Linked DNA regions of Homo sapiens: region 2 is linked to region 1. The links are contacts of gene promoters, found by promoter capture Hi-C in blood cells and fetal thymus (Javierre and others, 2016). All regions are on one chromosome and are shown on one strand. Each heading gives the region's core, a stretch centred on a gene start or on the middle of the fragment in contact. The rest is flanking DNA. Distances are from core to core; before and after follow the strand shown.

Region 1 (4,422 bases), core at 1,467-3,966:
AAGACTCCAGTTTTAGTTTTGATGCCAATTGCCTAGCTTTGATCAATTCAATTACGTGCATGATTAAGAATGAAGTTTGTGATACCTATTGTCAACGGCCCAGGAATCAGTTTTCTAGGTTCCTTCTGTGCTTTTGGTTACACCTATAATATTCTTCCCTTCCTCTTTACTCCTCAGAATCCTGCCTATCCTTCAAGGATCTGTTCTTTCCTTTACCATTTCCTGACGACCCCAGCCAATGTTGATCTAAATCAACACCATTTTTTTTCTTTTTTAAGACAGGGTCTCTGTGGCCCAAGCTGGAGTGCAGTGGTACAATCTCAGCTCACTGCAACCTCTGCCTCCGCCTCCCAGGTTCAAGTGATTCTCCCACCTCAGCTTCCAGGGTAGCTGGGACTACAGGTGTGCGCCACCATGCCTGGCTAATTTTTTTTTTTTTTTTTTGGAGAGACGGGATTTCACCATATTGGCCAGGCTGGTCTCGAACTCTTGACCTCAGGTGATCCAACTGCCTTGTCCTCCCAAAGTGCTGGGATTACAGGCGTGAGCTAGCATTTGATATCTAGACCACTAATGACATATATTTTGGATATATCTTATGTTAGTTTTCTTTAGATGCATATTCCTCCCCCATTAGAATGTAAATCCTACTGAATACAAGAGATATGACTTATTCAACTAAAAAATGAAGCTCTTTTACACTATAGGTATTCATAACTGTATGTTGGTTATTTCTTTAAAAAGGGCCATTATGCTACTGTTGTTTTTATGTGATATTGGTAGTCCTACTTCACAGGGACAGTTTACGGAAGCACTGCATGTAAATGCAATCCATCTGGGTCAGCTTTAGAGTTACCAGTTTCCTATCAAGGATTTGACTTTTTTCTTTTCTCCAAATGGAAGATCATCAAGAAACTGTAGAAAGATGAAATGGAAAATATTAAGTGGGTTACAGTCCCAAATCAACAATTTTATTCATGTTTAATATTGAAGTAAAGAACACTGTTTTGGCCAGGCACGGTGGCTCACGCCTGTAATCCCAGCACTTTGGGAGGCCAAGGCAGGCAGATCACGAGGTCAGGAGTTCAAGACCAGCCTGGTCAACATGGTGAAACCCTGTCTCTACTAAAAATACAAAAATATTAGCTGGGCATGGTGGTGCGTGCCTGTAATTCCAGCTACTCGGGAGGCTGCGGCAGAATTGCTTGAACCGGGACCTGGGAGGTGGAGGTTGCAATGAGCCAAGATCATGCCACTGCATTCCAGCCTGGGCTACAGAGTGAGACTCCGTCTCAATCAAAAGCAAAAAAACAAAAAGAAACCAGTTTTGCCTGTAGTTTCATTTATGGTCACATAATCCCAGAAAATAGGTAATGTTGATTTTGGATTGGAAGCAGGCCAGTGTCACATTTTACAAAATCGGATAAGAACTAGAATTTGAAAATTGTGCTGATATAGTGGCACAGATGTCTTAGCTTTGTTTCCTTCTAAAAGATTACTGGAGGCCGGGCGCTGTGGCTCATGCCTGTAATCCCAGCACTTTGGGAGGCCGAGGCGGGCGGATCATAAGGTCAGGAGATCGAGACCATCCTGGCTAACACGGTGAAACCCTGTCTCTACTAAAAATACAAAAAATTAGCCGGGCGTGGTGGCGGGTGCCTGTAGTCCCAGCTACTCGGGAGGCTGAGGCAGGAGAATGGCCTGAACCTGGGAGGCGGAGCTTGCAGTGAGCCGAGATCGCGCCACTGCACTCCAGTCTGGGCGACAGAGCGAGACTCCGTCTCAAAAAAAAAAAAAAAAAAAAAAAAAAAAGTTACTGGACTAGATGATGGCTGGATTCTGTCAGTCTCAGGTCTAATTAGGAGTCAGCGATTTGGACGCGACAAGCAATGTTCTCAGTGAGCTTCTCACTCATGGTCTTGCAGAGCTGAGAGCAATAAAGCCACGGTGGAATTTGTGAGGCTTAATTAGGTGGAAATGCACACTTACGTCGGGAGAATAACACGTTCACCAAAGGACACAGTGGTATTTTTTAACCAATCGCAACTCTGTACGTTGGTATTATTCTAAGGGAGCAAAGCTTTGCCCCAACCCCCACCCCCATGTCCTGGTACTCTTCCACTCTGAGAGCTTTAGAACCGGGGTTCCAAAGTCTCTGCTTAGCCTAACAGTGACGTGCTTGTCACAAAGCCAGAGGCCGGTGTACTCGGGTTAGAGAGGGCCTTTGTCGTTGGGTTTTATTCTTATTGTATTATTCGGGCTCCACCGACCCAAATATTAGTCAACTGGGTTGGGCGAGGTAGGACGGATGAAGCCCACCGTCTAACAATCTGGACATCTATAGGAGCAGATCCGCCGCTCGAAACAGCTGACCCAGCGACGACTGCGGAACCACTAGCAGCGTCTGCACAGATCGACCCCGCCATCCCGCCGTCCCGCTCGGTGACCGGAGACACAGCCGGGAACGCGACTGATCAGGCTACCGAGCCGGGCCGCAGGGCGAAAGCGGTGCGGTCCGAGGCCTCAGAAAGGGACACGCAGCAGCGGAAGTGGCGCTGACTCAGCCCGGCCTCCCTGCAGTCCCCTGGCAGCGGTAGCAGCCACAGGGGCGGGCGGCTGGGCCACACGCCTCCCCCGCCCTCGGCCCCACCCGGCCGCACCCTAAGCCGCGCGGCGTCACAGAGCGCATGCGTGCCGCGGGGGATGCCGGGAGCGCGCAGTGGCGGCAGCGGCGGCGACGGCAGTAACAGCGGCAGCTACAGCGGGGACGCGAGCGGGGCGGTGACGGTGTGGGAGGTGGTCTCACTCTTGGGAAAACTGCTGGGCACCGTCGTCGCGCTGAAGGTGGTTCTGTACCTGCTCCGAGTGTGCTTAGCGATGGCCTGGAAATCCGGCGGCGCCAGCCACTCGGAGCTAATCCACAATCTCCGCAGTAAGTGCCACCTCCGCCCGTTGTAGGGCAGCTGGGGCAGGCTGGGCCTGGACCGGGTCCCCCTGGGCCGTCCGGAACGTTCTGTCTGTCCCCGCGCGCCTGTTGGAGGGCTTCGGCGCAGAGTTGCCCCGGTAGTCCCGAACGGCGTGCGCTTGCAGTCGCCTCCCTCGGGACCTGTCACTCGTCGACGACGTGGACTGGAAGGGGAGAGAAAGAGCCAGGGGCCGCTGCTGGTGGGGGCAGGGGCAGTCGTCTCCCTGCAGGCCCTGGGGGAGGGAGTGCAGTACAGGTGATGCTGCTGTCACTCAGGTCCGCGTCCGGGTCCGGCTTGTGAGGGGCGTGCCTTCGGGGTGGGAGCGTGTGGGCTAGGCCTTATGGAGAGTGGGCTGGCGCTCAGGAGACCCCACCCTCGTCCCCTGCATTTTTCTCACCTTCCTCCTCCATAATCAACCTCGCTGCAAGCTTTCCCTCTTATGCAGCCTCCCCCGCCCTCCGTTTTTTCCCCTGGAGGGAGATGCCACCGTCTGATACAGGCGAGGGGAGGAAGATGAGAGTATTGCCATTGCAGATGCTGGGAGAAATTTCTCGGGCGGCTGTCCAGTGGAAAGCTCCGTGCGGGGCGGAGAAAGAACAGGGGATGCTGTTCCTGAGAGACTTGTATTTCAGGAGCCTTTGCAGGTCCTGGATCAGCAGAGGGTTGTGTGTCTGATGTTCTAACTTTTTTCAGGGCTACCATAGGCTTTAAAAACCTTATGTGGAGTTTCTTTATATCACTCTCCTTAGTTACTGTATTCCTTCTTCTGATGATAATTTTAGGATAGGATGAGTGCTGTGTCACTTTCTTTTTTTAAATCGAAATATAGCGTCCCCGTTTTGTTGGGAGACTACAAGGGCCGCAGTCTATAATAAACTCACTGGTCAGAATTTATAGCATTATTCGCTACTATGCAGTAATCATATCTTGTCACATGGTATTTTTAATTGTCCTGTGTTACTTAGCTTTTCATGTGTTTGTCTTATTTCTCAACTCGATTTGTAATTTCCTTAACGGCTGGCACCATTAAAAAAAATTTTTTTTGGCCGGGCTCATTGGCTCACGCCTGTAATGCCAGCACTTTGGGAGGCCGAGGCGGGTGGATTACCTGAGTTCAGGAGTTCGAGACCAGCCAGGCCGACATGGTGAAACCCCATCTCTACTAAAAATACAAAAATTAGCCGGGCGTGGTGGTGCCTGCCTGTAATCCCAGCTACTTGTGAGGCTGAGGCAGGAGAATCGCGTGAACCCGGGACGGGGAGGTTGCAGTGAGCCAAGATCTTGCCACTGCACTCCAGCCTGGGCAACAAGGGAGGAAACTCCGCCTCAAAAAAAAAATTTTTTTTTGAATTTTCTCTAAGAATTTAACAGTCATCCCTTTTTTTCATAAATGCCCATTAAATGTCCGTTATATGCCTAAATCTGTGCTAGACAGACAAAGGTAATTGAGAGAAAT
Region 2 (4,707 bases), core at 2,194-4,693, 730 kb before region 1:
AGCAGGGCAGGACACCAGTTGGAAGGACTGGGAAGGCCCTGGATGGGGCTACATCTGGGCTGGTCCTTGAGGGAAACAGGATTTGGACTTATGCAAGTGAAGGTGGGAGGTAGAGGGGGTAAACTCTCAGCATCTTGCTGCATTTCAAATATGAATGTCTGATTTTAAATAAATTTTTATATCCATAAAGGGAGCCTGGTGAATGGGCCCTTGAGAGAGCAAAGCTGAACGTGAATGAAAACTTCCTGCTCGTGGGGATTCTTGAAGAGTTGGAAGATGTGCTGCTGTTACTGGAAAGATTTTTACCTCATTACTTCAAGGGCGTGCTCAGTATCTACAAAGACCCAGGTAACTTCATTTGTAAGCAAGCTCTTCTCCATGAGAGGTCTGTGTCCAGGGCTACTCACCTTGAAAAGGCCTCAGGAAATAAAGGAGTGAAATGATCTCTTCTGATGACAAAGGGCAGTTAGTTCCCTGGGCTTGCAAAGGAAAGTTAGAACCAGGAGCTGCAGATGCCAAAATCTTGAGCTTCATGTTCAGACATAAAAGCACCATGTTCCAAAGGCTTAATGGCTCCATTTCTCCCTATGGAAACTGAAATTGGCAACATTCTCCATCAGCCTTGTCTTGAGCATGTTGCTGGAAACTGAAACTGGCAACATTTTCCATCAGCCTTGTCTTGAGCATGTTGTTGGGGTGGGTACAAATGAATCCGTGTGTGTGCACCTGGACTCCATTGATGGAAACATGCGTGAGTATGAAAGAGCCATCCTTGTGATGAATTCTCTCTGGCCCAACTTCCATTTGATAAAAGCACTCTAGTGTATCAAATCCTGACAGTGGAATAGATAGAGCAGCAAATTGAAAATACAATTATGATTTTATCCTAACAAACCGAGTGGTCCCCAAATAGCAGCAAGAAATAGAATGTGGCAAAGCAATTACAAGGGCTGCCTGTGGTATCATCGTAAGTATAATTACTTTCAGAAATCCATCATTTATTTTTTCATTGTCATTTTATCCAAAGAGAAAGACAAACAACGTTGTTTGTTTTTTCCTATTCTCCTTAATCTACTGCTGTGACAACAAGCCTTGAATACACATTCAGTGATCTGTTTATTGTTCTGTTTTGTTGTCCTGAGATGGAAGAAGGCATTCTGCCCTGTAGAAATAAGCAGCAGATAGGCCCGGTGCGGTGGCTCATGCCTATAATCCCAGCATTTTGGGAGGCCGAGGCAGGTGGATCACCTGACGTCAGGAGTTCGAGACCAGCCTGGCCAACACGGAGAAACCCTGTCTCTACTAAAAATACAACAATTAGCCAGGTGTGTTGGTGGGAGCCTGTAATTCCAGCTACTCGGGAGGCTGAGGCAGGAGAATCGCTTGAACCTGGGAGGTGGAGGTTGCAGTGAGCCAAGATCGCGCCACTGCACTCCAGCCTAGGCGACAAGAGCGAAACTTCATCTCAAAAAAAAGAAAGAAAGAAAGAAGGAAGCAGCAGATGAAAGCTCCCCAAATGCAGTCTGCTGCCTCACATTCCACAGGGTTCCCGAACCCCACCTGCATCACTGGTAGGTCCCAAGGCCCAGGGAAACTGGTCTTTGCCCAGAGAGCCCTGGATCCCGTTGCACAAGGTCAAGGTGGCCCTACCACCATCAGGGACTTGCTGAAGGAAGGTGGATAGTTGGTGGAGGCTGCCTTAGCCTCCCAGCTCTCATTAGAGTTCAAATCCCATTTACCTGAGTGGGGTTGTGAAACTAGGATTTCCTTTGTCTTTTCAACAACAAGCCATTTAAAGAGTTTATAGAATTTTAATGTAAAGAGTTTGATGTGACTGATTTTTATTTCTAGAAGACAACATAAACTCCGTTCTTTGTGCAAGGAGAGGTCTTATCCTAAATTAGACTCCTTTGAAGAAGAAAGGTTTATGTTAATCATTTTCTCCTTTTGGCTTTATCTTGTTCTATGGTGTGTGTGTGTGTGTGTGTGTGTGTGTGTGTGTGTGTGTGTGTGTGTGGTGTGGTGTGGTGTGTGGTGTGTGTGTGTCTAATACACAGTCTGAGATAAAGGGCAAACTAAATCCTGGTGACACATAAGATGAACACTCTCCATAAAAGATATTATGGCTTCCAACTTTGTTACTGTCTGCTCAGTCATTTGCTCTGAGAGAGATCAGCTGCTATGGATGAAGAGAGGTTCACATAGTGAGGAACTGAGACCTCAGACCAAGAGCCACGTGTGTGAGCCATCTTGGGAGCAGCTACTATGACCCCAGTCAAGCCTTCAGATAACTGCAGCCCCAACCAACATGTTAATGGCTGTCTCATGAGAGATCCCAAGCCAGGACCACCCAACTAAGCTACCCCTGAATTTCTGACCCTCAGAGCCAGTGTACGAAATAAATGTATGTGTTTTTATTTTATTAATATTGTTTATTTTAATGAGCACTCTCTTGTCCCAGCATTTGGGAGGAGGAGCCAACGTGAGAGTCCTCTTCCAGTTACATCACCATCCATCCTGAGGTCTGGAACACACACCATTCACAGGATGCAAAACCCAGCACAGGGGTTGTGGACCTGAGAACCTAGATGAGGGTATTTTTATCTTCATGCTTTTGAATACAGATAAACCACCTATAAAAAGCTTAGCCCAGAGGACCCACTTAGTGGCTCTTGTCGTGGTATATCATATTGACTTCCTATTTTCTCCATTTAAATATGTGTCTTCTCAGAAATTATGGGCCTTTATTCCGTGATCTGAAAGTTCGTTAATTCAAGGAGAAAAGATTTCTGAAAACCAAGTTACTATTAACTCTTTTACCTTCAGCCATGATCTTTCCACCTATAAATTAAAGATTATTTTTCCCTCAGAGTTTGGCATAGTAAATATCTCAAAGAGAATAAAGGACATCTGGTTTTCCTGTGTAGTGGGATGAAAGGTTTCCATAAGCCAGGCCACTTGGCCAGTCCACGTGGTCCAGCTGGACTAGCGGTTAAAACAGTGAAACACTTCTATACGGCCTTCAGGGTGCACCTGCCAGCCTGGCTGCCCGTCCTTGTTACCCCCGCCTTTTCCAACAGTGATGTAACGGAAGGACTAATTCATGGCACAAGAGGGATCTTCAGGACCCCGGGCCAGTGTCACACTCAGTGACTGTTCTGAGTTCAGTTCTTGAGTGGAGCTGGTTGTCAAATACTTTAAATATCACCCTAGCATAACTCTCTCAGCTGCCACACATTATATGCCCAATAAAATGAACCTTTGAGTTGTTGCTTCAGTAACTTCTACTGTGTTTTGTGTTCTCTTGGGCATCTTCTTGTGATATGTTTCTATGGTAACATTGAAGACCAAGCTAGTCCACAGTTCCTCTATCCCAACAAGTTTCCGTGTCCCCTGAGGCAGAGGACAAGAGATCAACACACACTCCTGGCCAGTTTCTCAATATATTTTAGCCTCAGGGAAGACTTAGCACCCATATTGTTTTCTCATCACCACAACTGAGTTGGTGTCAAGTAGGTTAAAGAAAGAATAGCTGCAAGTTTCTAGTTACTTCACCATCTCATCTTTGTATTTTTAGTCTAAGTTCATGTCTTAGGGCATACTAAAATCATTACTCTTTCCCTTTATTGAAGAGTTTGATAACTGAGTAGATTAGAGAACAGAGAGAAGAAAAGCTAAAATCTAAGATACTGATTTAAGGGATCTAGTGACCCTTAACTCATTGTAGATTAACTAACCATCTGAAGAGCTGAATTAAGATGCAAAAACACCACTGGCCATTTTTCTTTGGTGTTTGTCCTGTTATTGAAAAACAAAAACAAAAAAAAAAATAGGAGTTTGCTGACTTCTGGTAACTCCTCTCTAGCAATACTAAAAATATGTATACCAGTCTCATTACAGAAGAAAAAACACTAATAGCAATGACTCTTTGGAGAGCTAGTAAAAATCGTAATGTCTGTTAGTCATATGGGTTGTCACTTATTTCAGATTGAAATGATATTCATTGATTCTTTCAAATCAATACTACCTGTCCCAATAACTCACCATTTAGACAGGTTAATAACCTTTCTCAATAACAGCGTAACTGTCTTTTCTTCTGTTCCTTTCTTGTAGAAATATATGCTGACATCAAGTAAATTTGTCTCCTACCAAAAATATTGGAGAAACTTAGCCTTTAGAACTTTTTTTAAACAGTCATTTTATGTTAATATTTGCATTTTATGGAGACAGAATAGAGTATCTCAGAAGCTTAGGATAGTAAGTACTTGAGATGAAATAAAAATTAGAGTTTTAGCAAGATGGATAACCAAGAGAATATGCTTGGTATTTCTTCCAGCCGGTGCGCAGCTGCTGATATTAGGACAAGTACTGTGGAGTGGGCATTCAGAAAACACTGCTCAATCCTGACCATGAGTTTGAATTAGGGAGCACCAAGGCCCCAGCAGGTTTACTCGGTAGAAGCAACCTCACTGGTTGAACATATACATAATTATTACATATGATCACATATGTCATCTTATACATAATTATTTTTTATTGATTAATCCTTATTATGTTTGTTTATTACTTATCACCTTTTAAAAATGAGAAACTGAGGCCAGGTATAGTGACTTGCACCTGTAATCCTACCATTTTGGGAAGCCAAGGCAGACAGATCACTTGAGGCTAGGAGTTTGAGACTAGCCTGAGCAACATAGCAAAAGCTCG

The links. The method cuts DNA at HindIII sites, captures the fragments that hold promoters and counts their contacts. A CHiCAGO score of 5 or more calls a contact.
Region 2: a fragment that was not itself captured here is called in contact with the fragment with the promoter of PCMT1 in region 1 in 1 of 17 cell types (activated CD4 T cells); the score reaches 6.9 in activated CD4 T cells.

What each region holds. Positions count from the first base shown.
Region 1 is chr6:149,747,025-149,751,446 of GRCh38, forward strand. PCMT1 (protein-L-isoaspartate (D-aspartate) O-methyltransferase) reads left to right here and starts at 2,717. Exons shown (of 8, transcript NM_001360452.2): 1 at 2,717-2,932. The coding sequence starts at 2,878. It also overlaps a transcript of NUP43 not described here. RefSeq lists enhancers at 1,717-2,682, 3,648-4,150, 4,151-4,422 and silencers at 2,467-2,856, 3,087-3,323, 3,249-3,543. The HindIII fragment of the contact is 1,314 bases long and covers 2,079-3,392 here.
Region 2 is chr6:149,021,134-149,025,840 of GRCh38, forward strand. It overlaps UST (uronyl 2-sulfotransferase), which reads left to right. Exons shown (of 8, transcript NM_005715.3): 7 at 191-348. Among named protein-coding and RNA genes, the nearest start is that of UST-AS2, 9.2 kb to the right of the region's middle. The HindIII fragment of the contact is 1,605 bases long and covers 2,642-4,246 here.